2 separate regions of the Homo sapiens genome follow, and region 2 is linked to region 1. The links are contacts of gene promoters, found by promoter capture Hi-C in blood cells and fetal thymus (Javierre and others, 2016). All regions are on one chromosome and are shown on one strand. The core of a region is centred on a gene start or on the middle of the fragment in contact, and the rest is flanking DNA. Distances in the headings are between cores, read along the strand shown. Region 1 holds the start of ZNF224 (zinc finger protein 224). Region 2 overlaps CEACAM20 (CEA cell adhesion molecule 20).

Region 1 (4,841 bases), core at 193-2,692:
ACAGGCGCCCACCACCACGCCCAGCTAATTTTTGTAATTATTTTTTAGTAGAGATGCGGTTTCACCATGTTGGCCAGGCTGGTCTCGAACTCCTGACCTCGTGATCCGCCCGCCTGGACCTCCCAAAGTGCTGGGATTACAGGCGTAAGCCACCGCGCCAGGCCCATTTTGTTCTTAATAAAGAAAAATAGAATGCTGTACAATGACATGGTTCTATAAGAATACAAAATATTTGTAATGATTGAAACAAAATAGTTGACAACATTTTTAGAAACTCAGAAAATTTCAAGCCCCTAAGTCTTGCTTTCCCCACCTAAGTCCAACTAGTTCCTCTGCCTCAGTGACAACGTATCCCAAGAGAAGATCAAATCAGGCTCTGACCCAGACTGCTTAGGTTCCAACCCCAGCTCCACCTCTCACTAGTCGGGTGCCTATGCGCTCTGTGTCTCACTTTCGTTTTTAAAATAGAAAAAAGCAATACTTCTCCACAGAGCCACGGTGTGGCGTAAATTTATTTGTATAAAGCCCTTAGAATGAAGTTACTAATTAAGACTTAATTATTATCGACCCCCATGCCCGAGGACACAACCTATACACTCTCGGTTGGGGTGAGCATCTCGGTCAAAGAGCCAAGGACCACTCACGTAGAGCTTTGCCCTCAGAAGCCAAGAAGTCCCTCCCTGCAGCTCTTCTGGAAAGGTCGGGTTGGGGAACGAGAAAGCTGTGAAACACCTTGACCGCGTCGCCGTCCCCCATAAAAGTTAAATGCTCCTTTCCCTTCATGAAAGTGGACGCAACCCTCGCTCTCCTAAAAAGAGGTCAGAAGGCTTCCGGGATCATCCAGCGTCCTGCAGGGATCAGGGAGAAGGGCCGAGGCCCCTGCAGCTGGAGCTCTGACCCCACCCGGTCCTTCGTGGGAAATTAACAAGAGACCACCAGTCACCAAGTGACAGGGACTGCTTTAAGGCTCTCATTTGTGTTACCTCTTCCAGTTCCCAAAACGATTCCATTAGGATGGCCCTAAAGTCCCCATTTTAAAGAACAGTAACGGGAAACCCAAGGAGATTAACACCCCAACGTTATATCGAGAAGAAGTGGCCACGCGCGTGGGGTGCAGGGGGCGGAGTGGGCGAGCTCAGAGCCCCGGAAACCCTGAAACCAGGTGAGACGCGACCCAACCAAGTACCAATGCCCCCGGGAAGCGAGGACAGACCCAAGCCCAAGAAGGTGCCACGGACGAGAACGCAAACAGCGGCCCTTGCCCCTCCAAACCTCTACTCTCCGACGAGGCCCCTTTTCCCCTAATTCGATCACCAGTTCTTTGAGGATCCAATGCGTAGGTCCAGGAAATTCAGAAGGGCCTGCAACGCGCGGAACTGCCCCAAACTATCGCGGAAAAACTGCAGCAACCTCAGTCCCCGAGCGGAAGTGTCCGCGACTCCACCGAATGTTTGGACTCCACTTCCCAGAATTCCCCGGGACCCGCCAGCCGGAGCCAAACTGACCGCGACTCCACTGAGCGTCTGGACTACACTTCCCAGAATTCCCTGGGACCCAACTGCCGGAGCTAAACCGACCGCGATTCCACTGAGGGTCTGGACTGTACTCCTGCAGCATTACACTCAAAGGGAAGTGTTGACGACTACTGGGAAGCCCTTGACCACTCTTCCCACGGGGAACGAATCTCGTACCCCCGAGCGCCTGTTGGGAAATGTGGACTTCTACCCTGAGAGTCGTCCTTCCCTCTCCCTGGGTGCCTAAGAGAAAATACCGTATAGAAAGGAATTCCTGAAGTCTAAACCCCTCTAGTGAGGACAGGAGTGTTACTGGAAAGGGAACAAGCGAGATGATACACTCTTCAAATAAGTTTTGCCAGTGGTAAGAAATGGCATGTAGTTTTAATTTATAACTCTTGTAAAGATGGCATATTCTTGCATATTTTCAGGTGTCATTATTACATTTTTTGTAAATTGTCCAGATGTTTTGCCCACTTTCTTATTGAGTTTTTGGTTTTATCCCTCACTTTTCAAGCACTGTTCTTATATTCATGATATTAACATTTTATCTCGCAAATATTTTCTCAACAAAAACGTTTTTTTTTATTGTTTTATCTATGCAAAACATTTTAATGTATTTTATTATTTAAAACATCTCTATTGAGGTGTAATGCACAAAACGTGAAATTCACCATTTTAGGATATATGTAGTACAAATAAAAAGTTAGGAAACATTTTCATCACCCCAAAAACCCCATACCCACTAAGCAGTCACTGTCTAACACTAATCTCTGTCCTATTGAATTACCTATTGTGGACATTTCATATAAATGGAATTATACATTATGGAACCTTTTGTTTCTGACACCTTTCACTTAGCATCCTGCTTCTTTTTTTTTTTTTTGAGACGGAATCTCAAAAAAAGTGCCAGGCTGGAGTGCAGTGGCACGATCTTAGCTCACTGCAACCTCCGCCTCCCGGGTTCAAGCGATTCTCCTGTCTCAGCCTCCCGAGTAGCTGGGACTACAGGCGCGTGCCACCACGCCTGGCTAATTTTTCTGTATTTTTAGTAGAGACGGGGTTTCACCGTGTTAGCCAGGATGGTCTCGATCTCTTGACCTCGTGATCCTCCCGCCTCGGCCTCCCAAAGTGCTGGGATTACAGGCGTGAGCCACCGCGCCCTGCCAGCATACTGCTTTTAAAGTTCATCCACATCACAGCATGTACCAGTACTTCATAATATTTTATGTTTCTACTACGATTTGTTTTTTTTGTTTGCTTTGTCTTGTTTTGTTTTGAGGTGGGGTTTCCCTCTTGATGCCCAGGCTGGAGTGCAATGGCACGATCTCAGCTCACTGCAACCCCCGCCTCCTGGGTTAAAACGATTCTTCTGCCTCAGCCTCCCAAGTAGCTGGCATTACAGCCATGCGCCACCACACCCAGCTAATTTTTTTGTATTTAGTAGAGACAGGGTTTCACCAGGTTAGTCAGGCTGGTCTCGAACTCCTTACCTCAGGTGATCCGCCCACCTCAGCCTCCCAAAGTGCTGGGATTACAGGCTTGCGCCACAATTTGTTTATCCATTCATTGATTGAGGGACATTTGGGTTCTTTCCACCTTTTGGCTGTAGTCAATAGTGTTGCTACAAACAGTGGTGTACAAGTATTTGTTTCATCACCTACTTTCAATTCTTTGGGGTATATACCTAGATATGAAATTTAGTGATTCATATGGTAATTCTATGTTGGGAACCACGAAACAATTTTCCACAGCAACTGCACCATTTTTACATTCCCACCTTCAGTGTGTGAGGGTAGTAATTTCTCCACATCCTCTCCAATACTTATTTTGTATATATGTATGTATAAAATATATATGTATATGTATATGTGTGTGTGTATAAATTGAAAACGGGGTCTCCCTGCGTTGTGCAGGCAGAATTGCAGTGGCTATTCACAGACAACATCTCACTACTGATCAGCATGGGAGTTCTGACCTGCTGTGTTTCCACCCTGGGCCAGTTTACCTCTCCTGAGGCAACCTGGTAGTCCTCTGCTCCTGGGAGATCACCATGTTGATGTCGACTTAGTGTGGACACCCAGTGGGCATAGCTCACTACACCTCAAAACTCCTGGGCTCAAGCGATCCTCCTACTTCAGCCTCCCAAGTAGCTGGGACTGCAGGTGCCTGCCACCACATCGGCTATTTTCTATTTTTAAAGATGATAGCTAACATAGCTGTTGTAAAATGGCATCTCATTATTGGTTTGATTTGCATTTTCCTAATGACTAATAGTTGAGCATCTTTTCACATAATTGTTGGTAACTTGTATATCTGAAATTTCTATTTGTATCTTTGCCCATTAGAAAATTGGGTGGTTTCTCCTCTTGTTATTGAGTTGTAAGAGTTCTTTCTTTCTTTTCTTTTTAAGAAACAGAGTCTCTCTTTGTTGCCCAGGCTGGAGTGCAATGGTACATCACGCCCCACTGCAGCCTTGACCTCCCAGGCTCAAACAATCCTTCTGCCTCAGCCTCCTGAGTAGCTGGGACCACAGGCATGGGTCACTATGCCTGGCTACCTTTGTTTTTTGTTGTTGTTTTTTGTTTGTTTGTTTGTTTCTTGTAGAGACATGGTTTTCGCCATGTTGCCCAGGCAGGCCTCAAACTCCTGGGCTCAAGTGATCCACCCATCTCAGCCTTCCAAAGTGCTGGGATTATAGGTGAGAGCCACCTCACCTGGTCTAAGAGTTCTTTATATATTCTGATACTAGAAGAATTCATGCTCTTGACAATGTCTCTGTATGCATAGCATTTTTTTTTTTGCTCTAGTCCAATTTATGTGGGGTTTTTTTAGCTTGTGCATATGGTGTCTTATCTAAGAATCCATTCCAAATAAAAAGTCTTGAAGATTAACCTTTATGTTTTATTCTAAGAGTTGTATAGCTTAACCTCTTATATTTAGGTCATTGATCATTTTGAGTTAATTTTTAAGTATAGTGTGAAGTGCGGATCTAACTTCATTATGTTGCATATGTATATATATTTGCCCAGCATTATTTGCTGAAGAGACTATGCTTTCTCCATTAAGCAATCTTGGATCCTTCTTGAAAATCAAGTGACTTTAGATGTATGAGTTTCTTTATGGACTCTAAATTCTATTCCATTACTATAGCTTGGTAGTAAGTTTCGAAATGAAGTGGGAGCCATCCATCATGTTCCTTTAAAAAAGAAAGATTTTGTCTATTTGCCTCCATTACAATTACATATGAATTTATGAATTGATTTCTGCAAAAAAAAAAAAGGCTGTTTGGATTTTGATAGTGATTGCAGTAAAACTGTAGATTGG
Region 2 (4,911 bases), core at 1,488-3,987, 410 kb before region 1:
ATTGATTCAGGCCATGGTATGGATCATGTTTAGTTTTGTCAGCTCTCTAATCAGCTTTGAACTGGTAAAAACTTAGCCACCTAAGTCCCTCTCTTCACCAGTGTCTGCGTAGGGGAGCCATGTTTGTTTCCTATTATTAGTCGGGCAAAAGGTCTTCCCAGAAATACCACCTAGTAAGCTTCCTCTTATATCTCATTAGCCAGAATAAGGTCATATGGTGCTCCTTGTAGCAACAGAGGCTGAGAAAGTGGTACATTAACATTCCCAGCCTCTTCAATAGAAGCAAGCAAGGGAGGTGGTGTGGGGAAGAAGGTTAGGTCAGTCAACTCAGTGAACTCAGTGTCTGCTACATTCTGGAGGGATTAGAAGGAGCAAACCATGCAAACAGTATGAAAGGAAACATTCCAACTTGAGAGGCATCAGTAAAAAAGGCCCTGAAGAGGGTGTAGAGTTATCAGTTGCTGTATAATGAATTACCACAGACTTTGCAGCTTAAAACAACATGAATTCATTATCTCACAGTTTCTGTGGGTCAGGAGTTCAGGCATTGCTTAGTTAGCTCTTCTGCAAGGCTGTATAATCAAGGTGCCAGTCAAAGCCCAGGTCTCATCTGAGGCTCAGCTGGGGATGGATCCACTTCCAAGCTCATGTGGTCATTAGCAGCATTCAGTTCCTTGCAGGCTGTCATAATGAGGGCCTCAGTTTCTTACTGTCAGCTGGAGGTCATCCTCAGTTCTTTGCCATGTGGCCCTCTCCACAGGCAGCTCACAACATTGCATCTTGCTTCTTCAAGCCAAGACAGAAGTCATAATCTTATGTAACAGAATCACATACATGCAATCATGTATATCCTGCCACCTTTGCCATATTCTATTGGTTAGATGCAAGTCACAGGTCTTGCCCTCAAGGGGAGGAGATTACATAAAGGAATGAATACCAGGAGGCAGGGATTATGGGGACCACTTTAGAGTCTGTTTACCACAGTGGGGAAGTACATGGGCCATTCCAGGAACAGAGATGTGCCAGGGTTACTAAAGTGTGATGAGAATGGAGGAAGATTTTTGGAATTTCCAAAGAAAGGAAAGCTCCAGGCTGTTTGGGCCCCAGACTACAGTGAGTAGACTGGGAGGGTCCACCTAGCAAATGGAGCTCACATTTTCTCTTTGTTTAACAGGAGCTTGTGAATCCAGAGCCCAACACTTACATCCAAATCAACCCCTCCGTCTAATGGAAGCAGAGATCTTTTCTCCAGGAGTCCTAGAGAAACCATGCTTGATCATATATTTAATGACATTTATTAAGTGCATATTATAAGCCAGTCATTCTCTGTCATCTCTGTAGACCTTGTGATGTTCTACTGCAATGGGTTGGTCAGGCCCTGGCTTCCATAGAATCTTAGATTTTGACTCATATTTTTTTTCAAAGCAATAGTAAGGGTAAAAATGACAGCCCGTGGATCTAGAGTTAGAGGACCAAGGTTTGAGACTGAACAGCTTAGGATATCATAGTTGCAGGCTGAGGATGAGCAAACACTGTTGGTGGACTCCAGAGAGAAGAGTGAGTCTGAGTCAGCCAGAGAGGAGTAGGGGACAAAGACAGGTGTCAGAGAAGAAGTGGCTTTTCAAATCATGATAGAAGATAAGGAACAAGGAGCTCTTAAGAAATTAAGAGCTCTTAATAAAAGGAGAAAACACGTAGTGAAGTGAGGGATTGAGGCTCCTGAGGAGAGGTAGGCATGAAATGCTTAGAATCCTGAGAACTGCAGGGGCGGAGAGAGTCAGAATGAGATTTGCTGAAGGTAAAGAGAGTTAGGAGACAAGGATATCTCCATGGTTTCTTGCCAGGGCAACTGGATGATTGGCAGGTCACTTTCTGAGAAACTTTGGGATAAGGAGAGAAATAAAGAATTTGCTTCATGTCAAGAATTTAGACATGTCAAGAATCAGTTGCAGAATCAAGTAGGCAATTGTTCATAAAAATCTAGACAGATCATGGCTGGAGATACACATTTGAGAGTTGTCAGTGGGACTTAAAGTTATGGGGCTGGATGAGCTCCTCTGTCAGGGGGGTCCCCAAGACCACCTCATGCTCAAAGATTTTCTAGAGGAATTCATAGGACCCAATTGTTATACTCATGGTTATAGTTTATTACAGCAAAAGGATGGAGAATAAAATTAGCAAAGGGAAAAGGTGCATGGGGTGAAGTCTGGAGGATACCCTGCACCAGCTTCCAAGTGTTCTCTTTCAGTGGAGTCACATGGTGTATTAGTCTGCTTTCTTTGGCCTATAACAGAATATCTAAATCTGGGTAATTTGTTTTAAAAAGGAAATTTATTTCTTACAGTTATGGAGGCTTAGAAGTCTAAGGTCTAGGGGTTGCATCTGGTGAGAGCACTTCTTGCTGGTGGGGACTCTCTGTGGAGTCCTGAAGTGGTGCAGGGAATCACATGCCAAGGGGACTGAGTGTGGTAACATGTTAGCTCATGTTTCTCTTTCTTTTCTTATGAAGCTACCAGTTCCACTCCCATGATAACCCGTTAATCCATTAGTCCATGAATGGATTAATCCATTCATGAAGGCAAAACCCTCATGAGCCAATCACCTCTTAAAAACCCCCACCTCTCAATATTGCCACACTGGGGATTAAGTTTCAACATGAGTTTTGGAGGAGACAAATATCCAAACCACAGCACATGGGAAATCCCCCAGCAATGATGTGTGACAACGTGTGTGAAGCATTGCCATCGAGGGAAGCTCACCTAAACCTGGGTGTCCATGGTTTTTATAAAGGGTCAGTCACTGAAGCTCCAGACTCCTAGAAGGAAAGCAGATGTTCCTCCATAAATTACACTGTTAGTATAAACCATCTGGACAAAGTGGTACAGCATGGCTCAAGGCCTCAGGCAAACAAAAGCACTCTTACCAGATAGAACATTATGAGAGCTCAGTTCCCAGAGCTGCCCAAAGGCTAGTCAGGAAAACAGGACCTTCTGGGGAACTTACAGAGTTTGAGCAATAGGCCTGTTATGTCAACCCCAAGCAGAGTGGATGAAGACAAGGCAAGGGACAGGCTGACAGCTGATTCCTGGGTTCCTCTGATGTTTACAGGAGAGATCAAGCAAAGGAGACAAAAAAGGACTGTTAACACAGGGGGAAACCAACACTGAAAACTCCTGGAAATGAAGAGTTTTCAGAATGCGTTGTTGCTATCCTTGGAGCTGAATGGCTATCATAATGATGATAACATTAATTCAGATTTTAAAAATTAATCATTAGATGTGATACAAGAGACCGGAATTAGGATCTTAAGGGTTGCACTCAGTAGTACCAGAAACACCACCCTATTTGAACCCTGAGAACTTTCCTCTTCCCTGCCAAGAAATGTCCCCCTCCCCCTGACATCCTAGAGACAGATCATGCCCTTTTACCCTCTCGTTACTCTTACTTTGTTTTCTAGTATTTATAGTAAATGGATTCATAATCTTCTTGCTCTTCACTGTATCTTGAGCCCTTATCCAATTCATGGCCAATAAACAGAATCTTAATATAAACTTTGGTCTCAGCTCTTCCCGACAGTTGACAGATAAATCTCTAGATTAGATAGGCATCTTTCTAGAATGTTCCTGAGTGGTAACTCTTTAAAATTTTTATTTATTCATTTATTTATTTTGAGACAGGGTCTGGCTCTGTCGCTGAGGCTGGAGTGTAGTAGCATAATCTTGGTTCACTGCAACCTCTGCTTCCTGGGCTCAGGCAATCCTTCCTGCCTCAGCCTCCTGAGTAGCTGGGACTACAGCTTGTGCCACCAGGCCCAGCTAATTTTTGTATTTTTTGTAGAGACGGGGTTTCACCATGTTGCCCAGGCTGGTCTCAAACTCCTGGGCTCAAGTGATCCTCCTGCTCCGGCTTCCCAAAGTGTGGGGATTACAGGCGTGAGCCACTGCGCCCAGCAGTGGTAACTCTTCTAAAGTCCCTGTAATATTCAGGTTAAGTCAGGATTTATAGGTTCCTGGAAGTAAACATTACCACCTTGTTCATTGTGAAAGAAAATAAAAAAGACTAAACAAAAGACAGATAAACAAAGTCAGTTTTACATTACATAGTACTAACGCTTTATTTTCTGAAAATTGTTTTTTTTTTTTGAGATGGAGTCTTGCTCTGTTGCCCAGGATGGAGTGTAGCAACGTGATCTTGGCTCATTGCAGCCTCTGCCTCCCAGGTTCAAGCGATTCTTCTGCCTCAGACTCCTGAGTAGCTGGGATTACAGGCGTGCATCACCATGCCTGTCTAATTTTTGTATTTTTTAAGTAGACACAGAGTTTTGCCATGTTGGCCAGACTGGTCTTGAACTCTTGACCTCATGATTGGCCTGCCTTAGCCTCCCAAAGTACTAGGATTACAGGTGTGAGCCACTGCGCCTGGCCTATTTTCTGAATATCTTAAACAATTAGCAGAAAAATAAATGAAGTGAAAAAAGGAAGACGACCTAACACTCAAAGCATCCCATTCTGATTTTGTCATATTTGTATTTGCAGATCAATCTGCAAGATTTTACATCTTTACAACACACAGCTAGCAACACAGCATTTCTATTTGTCCATTTTTCTCTCTCAGTAAGGTTTTGAGGGTTTCTTCAGATGACATATTTATCTTACTAAATTTACTTATAAGGCTTTTTTTTTTTGCTTTTTTGTGAATACATACGAACTTTTTCTGTTTTGTTTGCAAACTTAGTATTGCTTGCACGTAGAGGAAAGATACTGATGTGTAGACAAGCGGCAACATAATGTAAAAGTTAAGAGCATGGACTCTAGAGTTCAACATCTTGGTCTCAAATGCACAACATAGGTGGAAATACAGATGAAACAAGACTGAGTGAAAATATTTAAGTTGGATGACATAGGTCTTGGG

The links. The method cuts DNA at HindIII sites, captures the fragments that hold promoters and counts their contacts. A CHiCAGO score of 5 or more calls a contact.
Region 2: a contact is called between a fragment that was not itself captured here and the fragment with the promoter of ZNF224 in region 1, in 1 of 17 cell types (monocytes). The highest score is 5.1, in monocytes.

Annotation. Positions count from the first base shown.
Region 1 is chr19:44,090,962-44,095,802 of GRCh38, reverse strand. It overlaps ZNF224 (zinc finger protein 224), which reads right to left and starts at 1,442. Exons shown (of 6, transcript NM_001321645.3): 1 at 1,273-1,442. RefSeq lists an enhancer at 1,523-1,632. The HindIII fragment of the contact is 10,144 bases long and covers 1-4,841 here.
Region 2 is chr19:44,502,478-44,507,388 of GRCh38, reverse strand. It overlaps CEACAM20 (CEA cell adhesion molecule 20), which reads left to right. Exons shown (of 12, transcript NM_001102597.3): 12 at 1,175-1,230. The coding sequence ends at 1,228. Among named protein-coding and RNA genes, the nearest start is that of ZNF180, 4.4 kb to the right of the region's middle. The HindIII fragment of the contact is 5,114 bases long and covers 181-4,911 here.